4 separate regions of the Homo sapiens genome follow, and all the other regions are linked to region 3. Evidence: promoter capture Hi-C in human tissues and cell types (Jung and others, 2019). All regions are on one chromosome and are shown on one strand. The core of a region is centred on a gene start or on the middle of the fragment in contact, and the rest is flanking DNA. Distances in the headings are between cores, read along the strand shown. Region 1 has its middle 13 kb from the start of TRD-AS1. Region 2 overlaps TRD-AS1 (TRD antisense RNA 1). Region 3 holds the start of PRMT5 (protein arginine methyltransferase 5). Region 4 overlaps ABHD4 (abhydrolase domain containing 4, N-acyl phospholipase B).

What was found. The method cuts DNA at HindIII sites, captures the fragments that hold promoters and counts their contacts. A contact is called where the count stands out against the background at its distance.
Region 1: a contact is called between a fragment that was not itself captured here and the fragment with the promoter of PRMT5 in region 3, in 1 of the 25 tissues and cell types used here (heart right ventricle).
Region 2: a fragment that was not itself captured here is called in contact with the fragment with the promoter of PRMT5 in region 3 in 1 of the 25 tissues and cell types used here (thymus).
Region 4: a contact is called between a fragment that was not itself captured here and the fragment with the promoter of PRMT5 in region 3, in 1 of the 25 tissues and cell types used here (mesendoderm cells).

What each region holds. Positions count from the first base shown.
Region 1 is chr14:22,494,788-22,497,819 of GRCh38, reverse strand. It overlaps TRA, TRAJ44, TRAJ43, TRAJ42 and TRAJ41. Among named protein-coding and RNA genes, the nearest start is that of TRD-AS1, 13 kb to the right of the region's middle. The HindIII fragment of the contact is 3,317 bases long and covers 73-3,032 here.
Region 2 is chr14:22,478,096-22,481,512 of GRCh38, reverse strand. It overlaps TRD-AS1 (TRD antisense RNA 1), which reads left to right. Exons shown (of 5, transcript NR_148361.1): 2 at 155-272. It also overlaps TRA, TRAJ57 and TRAJ56. Among named protein-coding and RNA genes, the nearest start is that of TRD-AS1, 3.2 kb to the left of the region's middle. The HindIII fragment of the contact is 3,170 bases long and covers 363-3,417 here.
Region 3 is chr14:22,927,606-22,930,847 of GRCh38, reverse strand. It overlaps PRMT5 (protein arginine methyltransferase 5), which reads left to right and starts at 1,472. Exons shown (of 17, transcript NM_006109.5): 1 at 1,472-1,596; 2 at 2,233-2,351; 3 at 2,637-2,722; 4 at 3,188-3,242. The coding sequence starts at 1,487. It overlaps PRMT5-DT (PRMT5 divergent transcript), which reads right to left and starts at 1,239. Exons shown (of 3, transcript NR_110002.1): 1 at 1,096-1,239. It overlaps TRR-ACG1-3 (tRNA-Arg (anticodon ACG) 1-3), which reads right to left and starts at 1,147; the gene lies at 1,075-1,147. RefSeq lists a silencer at 1,019-1,108 and an enhancer at 1,519-1,628. The HindIII fragment of the contact is 24,447 bases long and covers 1-3,242 here.
Region 4 is chr14:22,602,560-22,605,103 of GRCh38, reverse strand. ABHD4 (abhydrolase domain containing 4, N-acyl phospholipase B) reads right to left here. Exons shown (of 7, transcript NM_022060.3): 3 at 1,342-1,714; 4 at 1,025-1,179. Among named protein-coding and RNA genes, the nearest start is that of ABHD4, 5.5 kb to the right of the region's middle. The HindIII fragment of the contact is 4,371 bases long and covers 1-2,544 here.

The DNA of each region.
Region 1 (3,032 bases), core at 482-2,981, 430 kb after region 3:
ACAACTGCATGCTAAGCATAGCAATTAAATTCAGCTGTGTTTCAACAGGTCCCATTGGATTTCTTTCCAGAGAGGACAATTAGTAAACCACAAAAACTCACGGGGTGTGACCAACAGCGAGGTGCCTTTGCCGAAGTTGAGTGCATACCCGGAATTTGAGTTCCACAGTGCGTTCTCCCTAAACAAAAAACCCCTTGCAGTAGCCACCATGTCCCTTCTCCTATGATTCCTATTAAAGCTAATGTCTGAAAACCAATCACACAGCAGTCACACAGACTGTGGGTCATCCATGGGCCCTTGATGGTGTAAATAAAGCTTCCCTCTTCCATGAGACCATTGCTGACAAGGTCACCACTCCCCACAGTGATGTGGGTGATCAATATTGAGATCTGCCATCTGAGGGAGGGGGCCCTGTGACATGTTATGAAGTCTGGAGTTTTCCTATGTCCAGCAGAACGACGTGCTGGTCTGGACTGGGAACAGCCAGGGGCATGGACAGAAACAATTCTGTGGGGTTCAAGGGTGAAGGTGGGGGGAAGATATCACAGAGAAAGGAGTTGGTAAGTCTCTTCTCACTCACTCTGCATTGCACTTTAGTTGCACTTACTGCTTTTGTTTTCACTTCACCAATGTTCTAACAAGTTAAGGGTATAGGATGTTAAGCAAGTTTCCTTAGTGTGTCTCCAAAACAGTCATTGGAAGGTCATTCTAGCCCACTTCATCCCATTACACATAACACATATCACTCTGGAAAAGTTATCTGAGTATTCAGGACTCTCTGTTCTCTATTTGAGAGCCCTTTCATTCTGTTGCCCAGAGTGACAAAGTACTGATGATAAATCAGGACTTTGAATCCCCAACACTTACTTGGTTTAACAGAGAGTTTAGTGCCTTTTCCAAAGATGAGATTTCCTTGGCTTCCTCCATAATTCACACAGTCCTATGGGGCTTTACAATAATCAACAGGTGGGAAGGATGGAGGGGAAGGCTGAGCAAGTGAGATCACCTTCCCCTCTAGTGGAAGTCTCCCCACCTTGCAGCCTCTGTTTCCAGTTCCTTTGCAAGGTCAGGACAGTTCTCTAAAATTAACAGCTGGCTGTGCAGATAGATCTGAACTTGATCGTAAATCCCCTGTTTTGTTCCTAGGACACTGGGTTCTGACAGAATGCTTGTGCCAGAGGCACAATAGCAAGGTTGGGCAGAAACATCCCACCCAGCACAGGAGGTCAACATTGAGGTCCCAGGGGCTACTTTAGGGACCAGGAGCACCATGCCACTTTCTCAGCCATATTTCTTTTTCTTTCTTTTTTTGAGATGTAGTCTCGCTCTGTCGCCAGGCTGGAGTGCAGTGGCACGATCTCGGCCCACGGCAACCTCCGCCTTCCGGGTTCAAGCGATTCTCCTGCCTCAGCCTCCTGAGTAGCTGGGACTACCGGCGCATGCCACCATGCCCAGCTAATTTTTTGTATTTTTAGTAGAGATGGGGTTTCACCATGTTGGCCAGGATGGTCTGCATCTCTTGACCTCATGATCTTCCCGCCTCGGCCTCCCAAAGTGCTGGGATTACAGGAGTGAGCTACCGCACCCGGCTTATATTTAGCATTTTTATATATCCAGAGCCAAGCCAATGAAGAAACCAGTGAAATTTTCTACTTCTTCTTGACCTAATCCTTAAGATTGCCAGAATTCATCAACTAACAGACTTCCAACCAGCTCAGGGTCTCAGGCACAAAGAAACCAGGTACTTAGATCCTCTTGGGAGTGGCAGTGTCTTAACCCCACAGAAACTGCCCAGAACAGCACCATTGCTCACTCAGGTCAGCTTTTAAGATTGACCCATTCCCCCAACTTACTTGGTTTTACTGTCAGTCTGGTCCCTGCTCCAAAGCGCATGTCATTGTTATTGTCACAGTAATACATGCTCTAACAAAAACCTCCTGGGGAAAACTTGCAGCCACCTCCCAGCATGGCAGGGACAAGGGGGAGCAGCACTGACAAGTACCACGCCACACACAGTTCCATTCTCCTTTTCCTACAGAAATGGGGTCATTTTGTCATGCTTCTAGACTGTAAATATGGGCACTTATCAGTGCACTGAGCACAGTTAATTGAGACCCCAAATTGGCACACTGGGACATAATCAGCTTTCAAACAGGTCCCCAAATGGTGCATAAACCAACACTGCAAACAAATTATGCCCAGGTACACTATTTGTCTTCAGGGACAACTTTTTATGAAGAACTACCTGAGAACTTCTACAATTTGCATCTTACTCATGGGTCAAAATACTCAAACTACTCATCTATGTAATTTCATATAAATTATCATGTATTTGTTTCATAATTGCACATAATGAAACATGGCAGTGCTTTGGGGGAGAGGAGTTGGCATTTGTTTATGTTCTTAGAGGGTCAAGATTTTGCTTTACTTCACCAATGTTCTAACAAGTTAAGGATATAGGATGTTAAGCAAGTTTCCTTAGTGTGTCTCCAAAATAGTCATTGGAAGGTCATTCTAGCCCACTTCATCCCATTACGCATAACACATATCACTCTGGAAAAGTTATCCGAGTATTCAGGACTCTCTGTTCTCTATTTGAGAGCCCTTTCATTTTGTTGCCCAGAGTGATATCATCAGAGACAAAGTCCTGATGATAAATTAATTCCCAAACCACTGTTCTAAAGGAAATACATAGGGTAATAAAGACTGAAGAAGCTTGGAGCAGAGAGGTTCTGTTTTCACAGGTGGAAAGGAAAGCCTCCGTAACAGGTATAAAAATAGCACAAGAACTGACTGAATGCAGGTATGTGTCCTCAGTGAGATCACCTCCCACTGGAAGGAAGGAAGGACTACATCCAGCCAGGATATCCCCTCTGCAGTATCCCCTGTTTTAAAGGAACACACAGTTAAGTTACCTCACGGTTTCTGTTACCTACCGAGCGTGACCTGAAGTCTTGTTCCAGTCCCAAAGGTGAGTTTACTGGCAGTGCCGGTATTTACACTGTGAGATGCTTCATAACAGAAACCTGTTG
Region 2 (3,417 bases), core at 698-3,197, 450 kb after region 3:
CTTCGTCTTCAACAGTTTTAAACTATTTATAGAAACATCCCTTTAGGGTTAGAGAAATGTGGCAAATTTCTAATCTCTTCATCCTTTTTCTTGCTATCTATTTACCGCAGTCATGTATTTACAATCTAAATTTACATTTCATTTCCATTTGCAGGAGCTTCTAATGCACTTCTCTATTACTTCAAGAACACTGTGTATAATAATAAACTCTACAGAAATAAACCAAATCACAAGAAGCTTTCAGGTCTGGAGGCTGACATTTCTCAAGACAGGTATGGGGCAAACAACTTATTTCTCTTCCAGGCAAGACTAAGATAGGGGCAGCCCAGTCAACTGAGCAACTAGGCTTGCAGGGTGGACATGTTATGTCTAAATAACTATCTATTGAGCCTTGCTCCTTGGGATTAATTTGGATTTTCTTTTTAATCTAGTTCCCAAATACCAGCTTCCCATCTTTTAGCTCTTAGAATCTCTCTGACAGGGAAAGCTTAAGTTAAATCTCATGGGGTTTTTGAATCTCAACAAATATTTCACCTCAGTACACATCACAAATAGAGGCAACAAAAGAAGGATGAATATAACACCTTTGGGAGAGAATTTATAACAGTTCTTTGGGAAAGATGGGAATTATAAGAAAAAGTAGAATTGTGTGTGCTTTTCCTGATTATCATTTTTAGTATCTGCAGGACTGTAAATGTCCAGTCCAGTTTGGAAATGGAGCAGCTGACTCACCTGCTCTTTAGACCTTTGTTAACCAGTGAACACACAGGTTAGCGTGGAAATGCTTTTCTCTCTTATGCTGTTTTAGGCATAAGAAACTTTAGGAAGGTCGCATGGGGTTCACATAATACATACTAGGACATTCTGATTCTAGCCATTCTAATGGGGATAATAATTTGGTCATAAAAGTAGTTTTATTTTAAGATACTCATTGAATAGTTGGTATCTTTTGGGAATTATGAGCAAAAGTTAAATCCCAAACAATTGTTTGAAATGAGCTTGCATTATCATAGAAAGCAGAGATTCCCTCATGGAACAAAATTTCAGCTACATTCAAGTTAACTGAAATTAGGTTTGTTTTGAGAATGGTGGAGCAATACTCAAAATATTCCCCCAAGTATTGCATTTGGATTAGGGAATCCTTCTCTAAGCTTAGTTGCCACCTTTTCAATGAGGGACTCAGAAGTGAGTGGGTATCAAAAGGGGCTTCTCTGGTGCAGAAAGCTCAGACAAGGCAGAGATGAAAATGTTCCATGAGGACCCAATTAGAAATGCAGCAGTTAACAGCACCCTGGGGCTTGTTTTCAGAAGTTCGTGGTCTTTCTGACTAATTTGAATATTTGCTTTCAATCTTAACTTTTCCCTAAATATCAGCTTGTAGTCAGTGTCAGTACCAGAAAATCTTACACGGCTTTACCCAATTTAGCTTGGCTCCAAGATTTTGAGTTATGGGGATTAGACAATTCTTTTCCTAATTGCACCAACATGGAAGCTTTGGGAAGACAAGTCAGCTGACACGGAGTGCTGGCTCAGTTGTTTAATCAGCAGGCTACATCTCACTGTTTCCTTTTGGATTGGGTTGCATTGCATACTCCCAGCCATTGGTATGTATTTTAGTCTAATCTGTCCTTCTTTTGTCCTTTCTAAATGCTTTCTGCCCCTACACACTAAAACTTCAATTCAGATTCCATTTGTCAGACACATATCTCCAACATTAACAAAAACACACTGAACATTCCCAAGTACTTAAAGGTGTTAAAGAAACAGTCCCAAAGGGGCTGCAGTCAGGGGCTGCCCACATTGTCATTTTCTCCAGAAAGACCCATGGTGAAAGATGCTAATAACTGGGCAGGAGATTCGGTTATCTTTCACTGAATTTCTAAGGATGGTGGCTTATGTTTGGAAACAAATAACATTCATTAAAACATACCTGGTCTAACACTCAGAGTTATTCCTTTTCCAAATGTCAGCTTACTATTGGCTCCAGTATAACACAATGACACGAGGATCTACAAAAACTCAGTTGCCCAGACTCCCCTTGATATTTACTTAAGTGCTTACTTGTCATCCAAGAATCCCCCTGATAAAACCAGCTGTTTATAGTGTGGGACTGGTGGAAGAGTTTACGGACCACCTGGGGCCTTCCTTTCTCTTCACACTCATTGTCCCCTTATTGGAAATGTACCAACATCCCCTCACAGCACGCCGGCTGTGGTAAAATGGGAACAGGAACTGCCTCCCCCATTCTACAGAGGAGGAAAATAGAGGCTCAGAGAGTTAATCAATTTTCTCTTAGTCCCATGGAAAATCTCACCAATTATAACGAAGAATGAAGCCTTCGAACAGTCTGACTCCTTAACTCAGTGCTCCATTGGTACTGTCATTCTCAGCTATTAGATAAAATAGCACATGAGGGCAAACAACAGAGACCTGCGTGTAGTAGGAATACACCAGCAGTTGTTTTGCACTGGAATCCATTAATGGGACTGCTGTGGTTTGGACCTGGGTTATAAAACAGAATGGAAAATTTGGAAATCAGGGTTCCAGGGAGAAATTTGGAAGCATTATTCAGACTTACATGGGTTTACTGTCAGTTTCGTTCCCTTTCCAAAGACCAGCTTTTCAGATCCGCCCTGAGTTACACCCCCACAGACTGCTTTACAAATACTGCCAAGACCCTTCCATCATGGGCTGGGAGCCAGGGCTCCACCCACTCTCCCAGGGGAAGCATAAAATTATACAATTGTATAGCTATTCCCGAAAAGGGAGGGGACCTATAGAACAAATCTGATTACTTTTTTACCTTACAGCCTGTTAGGTTGTTATCTTATTAATTAAGTAATTAGTTAATCTAACTGGTCAGCAGTTGCAGTTAATTTAAAAGAGCTCAGGCTTTGGGGCAGGTAGGCTTGAGTTTAAAACTCAGGACAAGTTTCCTAACTTGCTACACCTCAGTTTCCTCACTTGTAAAGTGGGGAAAACAGCAACTGCTTGATGATGTTGTAAGGATTAAGAATATGTAACTGGGTCACCGTGGTCCTGTTGACCAACCCCTGGCTTTACTTGCTGAGAGCGCAGTTCTTTAGCGATTATCTTAGCAACCTTAGAGACTAGAGCATCAGGGACATTCCCTCTAGACATAATCCCCTCACTGAAAAGCTTTTAGCTCTGGAATCTGAGTGCCAAGAATTAAACTCCAGGTTCTCTTTCTTACTTCATCGGCTTGAACAAGTTATTCAACATCTCTGTGCTTCTATAGAAATATAAAATATAAATATATCTCTTCTATAAAATGAGGATAATAATAGCACCTAACTCACAGACCTGGTATAAGGATTAAATGTGATAAGAGAAAGAATGCAGCACATCAACTAGCATATAGAAACCAATGAGTAAATCATCATTATTATTTTCCTC
Region 3 (3,242 bases), core at 223-2,722:
AGACGGGGAGTTTTCATGTTGGCCAGGCTGGTCTCGAACTCCTGACCTCAGGAGATCCACCCGCCTCCGCTTTCCAAAGTGCTGGGATTACAGGCGTGAGCCACCGCGCCCGGCCGGTTTTCCGGCTTTCATTCTTTTGGGGCACTTGCATTGCACCCAGGGTTCCCCAGAACTTATCCTACCCCACACCCTTTTCGTATTTCCTATGGCTCTGTCCCCAACGAGCTATGGTGATCTCAGTCGCATGGCCTCAGTTCTTTTCTTCTAGCGACCTCCATCCAACTTTCTATTACACAGCGCCCCCTAGACGTTCAATTCAGCATGACCAAACCCAAACCCTGATTTCCCAAACCCTCTTTCCGCATTTCTTGCTCACTGCATGGACAGAATCCTAGGCATCACCCCCTACTTTGCTTTCTCAGGACTCCTTGCCAGTCGGTCCCTAAGTTCTGCCAGCGGCGCCTGCGTGGGGTCTCTTGTACCGTGTTCTCCTCTCCATCCTTGCTGCCGAGCCCTCAACACCAGTGGGCCCCCTGCCTTCTGGAGTTCCCATTTACCTCCCTATGTCTTTCCTTGCTTCCTTCCTTTCCATCTCTAGCAGCTAATGACATGAGAAAATGTAGATTCTCTCTGGCCTCCATGCCAGCCAATTTCATGACTGCTGCCCACTGTAATTAATGAATTCCTTTTCTCTATCTTGAGGTGTGTGTGTGTGTTTAGGCGTTTATTTACACCTTTTGTGTTTGAAACACAAAACACTACTTCCTAGAATCACTAGGAAGTAGTAGCTGAGTTAGCAGTTTATTTTAATATGTAACATAGTAAGGTGACAAAGCTCATTTTAATAGCACCAGCCATTAACCCAGTTTTCTCAGTGTTCATATGGACGTAAATAATGACACAAGAAAAACACTTTTGAGGGTAGTTACGGGAAAAGCTGACATTACATGGCTGCATAACCCAACCGACTCAGGATCTGATAATGAAAGCGTGAAGATAATAAAGAAGCATCAAGCTGCGAAAGGAAAGGAAAATTACAAAATGCTCACGCAGCGAAGCTGCGAGGAACCCCACCGAGCCAGCCAGGAGTCGAACCTGGAATCTTCTGATCCGTAGTCAGACGCGTTATCCATTGCGCCACTGGCCCTGAGATGGCACTGTTTCTCTCCGTGATGGTACTTCAAGGTTATACTGCAGGGTTTCATGGGCGGTGTAGTCTCTCAACGGCGTTCTTCAGATAGACTAAGCATTCTGGGAGATTGAAGTTCGTCAGGAACCAGACCCTGAGATTGGTGGATCCATGCCGTACGCCACTGTGCAGCCCGCGGATTGGCAGGAAAAGCCACTCCCCATCCCTCCTGTTCGGGAGCTGTGGCAGACGCTCTGGTTGTTAAGGCGACTCGTCCCGCCTTCTGGGGCACTAGTTTGACTTTGTGATTGGCTACTAGTATCAAGGAATCCCGGCGTGGACAGCGCGAGGAGAAAGATGGCGGCGATGGCGGTCGGGGGTGCTGGTGGGAGCCGCGTGTCCAGCGGGAGGGACCTGAATTGCGTCCCCGAAATAGCTGACACACTAGGGGCTGTGGCCAAGCAGGGGTGAGGGCCGGACCTCCACGAGCGGAATGCGGGGTCCGAACTCGGGGACGGAGAAGGGCAGACTAGTCATCCCGGAGAAGCAGGGGTGAGGGGGTCGGCTAGGATGAGGAGGGGAGAGACTATTACTCTTTGGAGGGGAGGAGCCTCGGACCCAGTAACGTGAGGAAAATAACTTGTGGGAGGCCTGTGGTCACTGAGTCCCAAAGTTGGGAGAGTTGTTGGGTAAACTCTAAAGGGCCCTGGAGGTCGCGATTATTGTCTGGGAGTGGGAGGAGGTGTTAGGGGGCAAGGGAGAGAAGAGGCTAATTTTGACGGGGGAGGCATGGGCAGAACTGGGGCAAATCTGGATGTGATGGTCTTGGAAACATACTGACACCTGAGGAGAAAAAAATTCTACTTGTGGATATCCATCATTTTCTCCTTACTCATATGTCCCATGGCTGTGTTTTAGGGAGAAATTGAGGCACAGTACAGCAGAGTTGATATCCCCCAAGGTGGTCTGAACTCAGCAGCCTAGTAGGCTGAACTGATGGCAGCTGAAAGGGCTGTGCAAAATCAAGATAGCCTAAATCCAGTTGCTTGGCTCTCTGGCACTGCTGCTGTCTTTACATGATTCTGGGTCTGTCGCGGTTGTAGGTTTGATTTCCTCTGCATGCCTGTCTTCCATCCGCGTTTCAAGAGGGAGTTCATTCAGGAACCTGCTAAGAATCGGCCCGGTCCCCAGACACGATCAGACCTACTGCTGTCAGGAAGGGGTAGGGACCATCCCATATGCCCCTTAATTATTAGAGGCAATAACAACTTCTGCTTTATCGGGGCCCTCATTCTCCTCCTTTTCTGACTTGGATATATTTGTTAGTCCCTGGGATATAGATAACTTGTTTTCTCCTTGCTTCTCTATTCTGCATCAGGCTATCCCATGTCTATGTAGAAAAAACCTTTGTCTCTCATTTCTACTCTTGATTCCCAAAACTAAAAATTGAACAAGTAAAGTGCTGAACCTTATTCAGTATTTGTCTTTCTTGGGTGGGGGAGTGCAGACTGGAATACGCTAATTGTGGGAAAGCTTTCTCCATGGATTCGTCCAGACTCAAAAGTGGAGAAGATTCGCAGGAACTCCGAGGCGGTAAGACTGTTTGACTTCTCTGCTGGATTTTTCTAACCAAGCTGGGTGGGGAGAGTGGTCCCCTCCCATCCCCAATAACTTGGTAAATTAACTGATAGAATGAAATTAAAGCTATTAGGCTGGGTGCTGTGGTGCACACCTATAATCCTAGCACTTTGGGAGGCTGAGGCTGTAGGATCACTGGAGCTCGGGATTTCGAGACCAGCCTGGGCAGCGTAGTGAAACCCCATCTCTATAAAATATACAAAAATTAGCCAGGCATGGTGGTGCATGCCTGTGGTCCCAGCTACTCAGGAGGCTGAGGAGGGAGGATCAGTTGAGCTTGGGAAGGTCAAGGCTGCAGTGAGTGGAGACTGTGCCACTGCACTCCAGCCTGGGTGACAGAGTGAGACTTTGTCTCAAAAAAAAAAAAAAAAAAGCTGTTTGCTTGTTAGCTCAAACTTTTCCTCTTCATCTCCGTTCCAGGCCATGTTACAGGAGCTGAATTTTGGTGCATATTTGGGTCTTCCAGCTTTCCTGC
Region 4 (2,544 bases), core at 45-2,544, 330 kb after region 3:
GACACAGAGCAGGTGAAGATGTGGTGCTTGCCTGGACAAGTGCATGGTTCAGAGGGGCTTGCCTGCCACTGTGGGTTATGTTGGAGGCTTTGGTTCTGACCTCTCCCTGCTGCAGGTGTTGGGTGAACCACAGGGATGGGATCCAGTGGTTACTGGGCATGAATCACCAGCAGGTTTTCATAAAATTTCACACAGATTGGGTGTGGTGGCTCATGCCTGTAATCCCAGCACTTTGGGAGGCTGATGCGGATGGATCACTAGAGGCTAGGAGTTCAAGACCAGCCTAGCCAACATGGTGAAACCCCGTCTCTACTGAAAACACAAAAATTAGCCAGGTGTGGTGGGGTACACCTGCAGTCCCAGCTACTCAGGAGGCTCAGGCAGGGGAATGGCTTGAACCCAGGAGGCGGAGGTTGCAGTGAGCTGAGATCACACCACTGCACATCAGCCTGGGAGATAGAGTGAGACTCTGGTAGCTATTCTGCTCCACCTGTTCCTGGCATAGGAAAAGCTTTTCCCATGCCGATGAAGAGAAAAAATACAAAAAACAAAAAACAGGCCAGGCGCGGTGGCTCACGCCTGTAATCCCAGCACTTCGGGAGGCCGAGGCAGGCGGATCACGAGGTCAGATCGAGACCAGCCTGGTTAACACGATGAAACCCCGTCTCTACTAAAAACACAAAAAATTAGCCGGGCATGGTGGCAGGTGCCTGTAGTCCCAGTTACTTGGGAGGCTGAGGCAGGAGAATGGCATGAACCTGGGAGGCGGAGCTTGCAGTGAGCCGAGATCGCACCACTGCACTCCAGCCTGGGTGACAGAGCGAGACTTTGTCTCAAAAAAACAAAACAAAACAAAAAAACAAAAAACCTTCTCAAACCTTGAACAAAGTGATCTGGTTCAGATTAACAGCTTTAAATAACAAGGCTAGGCCAATTTCCACTTTTTAGGAATAAGTGGGAAAGACACTGTGGGCCTTCTAGAACGTTATAGCCTTCCTTTAAGGAGATACTACAGGCTACTCACCCCAGGGCCCAGCTACTCGAAGAACAGCCAATGGATTGGAACGTCCTAGGACAGATGCCACGGCTTTGACCCAGGCTGGGGGTGCACGGATCTCACTGGGGTTAGTTGGTCGGAGGGGAAAGCCCCATGGGTCCACCAGGATGAGGTGTTTAACTCTATGTTAAAGGCGGAAAGAGGAGAAGACACATTATATTCTCTGGTAGTTGCCATAGCCCCTTAAATCGCCTGGGAATGAGAGAAGTTTGGAAATGAATACTGGAAAGTTCCCAGTAAGGCCAGGAATTAGGTCACGAGGGATGGAGCCATCTCCTTATTACCTATCAGGGTACTTGATTGAGTAAGAAGTGGCCAGGAATCCTCCCAAACTGTGCCCCAGGAGGATCATGCTGGGGATCCCCATGGTCTCCCGCCATGTCTCTATCGATGTCACAAACTCATCCTCAGCCCCCTCCGGGTCCCTTGGGAATGCTGGCCTTGAGCTTCGCCCGAAGCCAAGCAGATCGAAGGTGTGCAGTGTGCGGCGGGCACTCAGTGAGTCCATGTTGAGGATCCAGAGACCCACGCCGCCCCCAAAACCATGCACCATCACCAAGGGGGTGCGGTCGTTTTGCTCGGGGCTCACAGTCACCGTCCAGATCTTATTCTGGTTTGGGAGGGATACATATCTGGCCAGGAACTTATTCTGGAGACCTGGGGAGGAAAGAATCCCATGGTAAGTCAATAAGTGTTTCCTGACGGCATCATCATTTTGCCTGGACTACCACTCTTCACATTCTCTCCATTCCCGAACCCTCCCCAACTTCCCTCAGCTCCTTCCTCTCACAACCCTCTGACCACTGAAAACAACTCTCTCCTTAACCAAACTTTAGGCAAGCCCTTCTGAGCCCTCTTCTTGACTAGGCTTTGACCTTGGCCCCTGGCCTGTCTTCCAAATGTCTAGCTCAGTCTTAGCAAGAATCCTGCAAAGTCAGGATGAGTAAGTCATACATCAGTTAGTAAGAATTCCTTCATATTTGATCAAGTTCCTCATCCCTCACCTTTGACCTTCCTTCAGCAATGATCCTGTTAAACTGGTTTGAAAAGAACTCCCTTTATCTTTGATATCTCCCTTTATCTTTGATATCTCCTCAGCAATTTTCTATCCACTGACCCCCCTCACCATGCTGCTTGGTTATAAATCCCCACTAGTCCTTAATGTATTCAAGAGTTGAGCCTGATCTCTCTCCCCTATTGCAGTAGTTTTGAATGATCTTTACCGATTTAATCTGTCAGAATCACTTTTTCTTTAACACTACACACTCTAAAGAATTCAACTCCAATCACATTTACAGACCATGTAGTCTGTACATAATAAGCGGGACCGTCTTATCCCTTGAAACAGCGTGCCCAGCTCCCTTTAGCCCCAGGTGGTAGTGACACCACCAACCCCACAGAGCTCTTGCATCTATTGCTCTTGAACCTGTGTGTGCTTGGGGCTTGATGGATGGACAGAACTGTGGTCCAGCCAGTTGGAGGGAGTG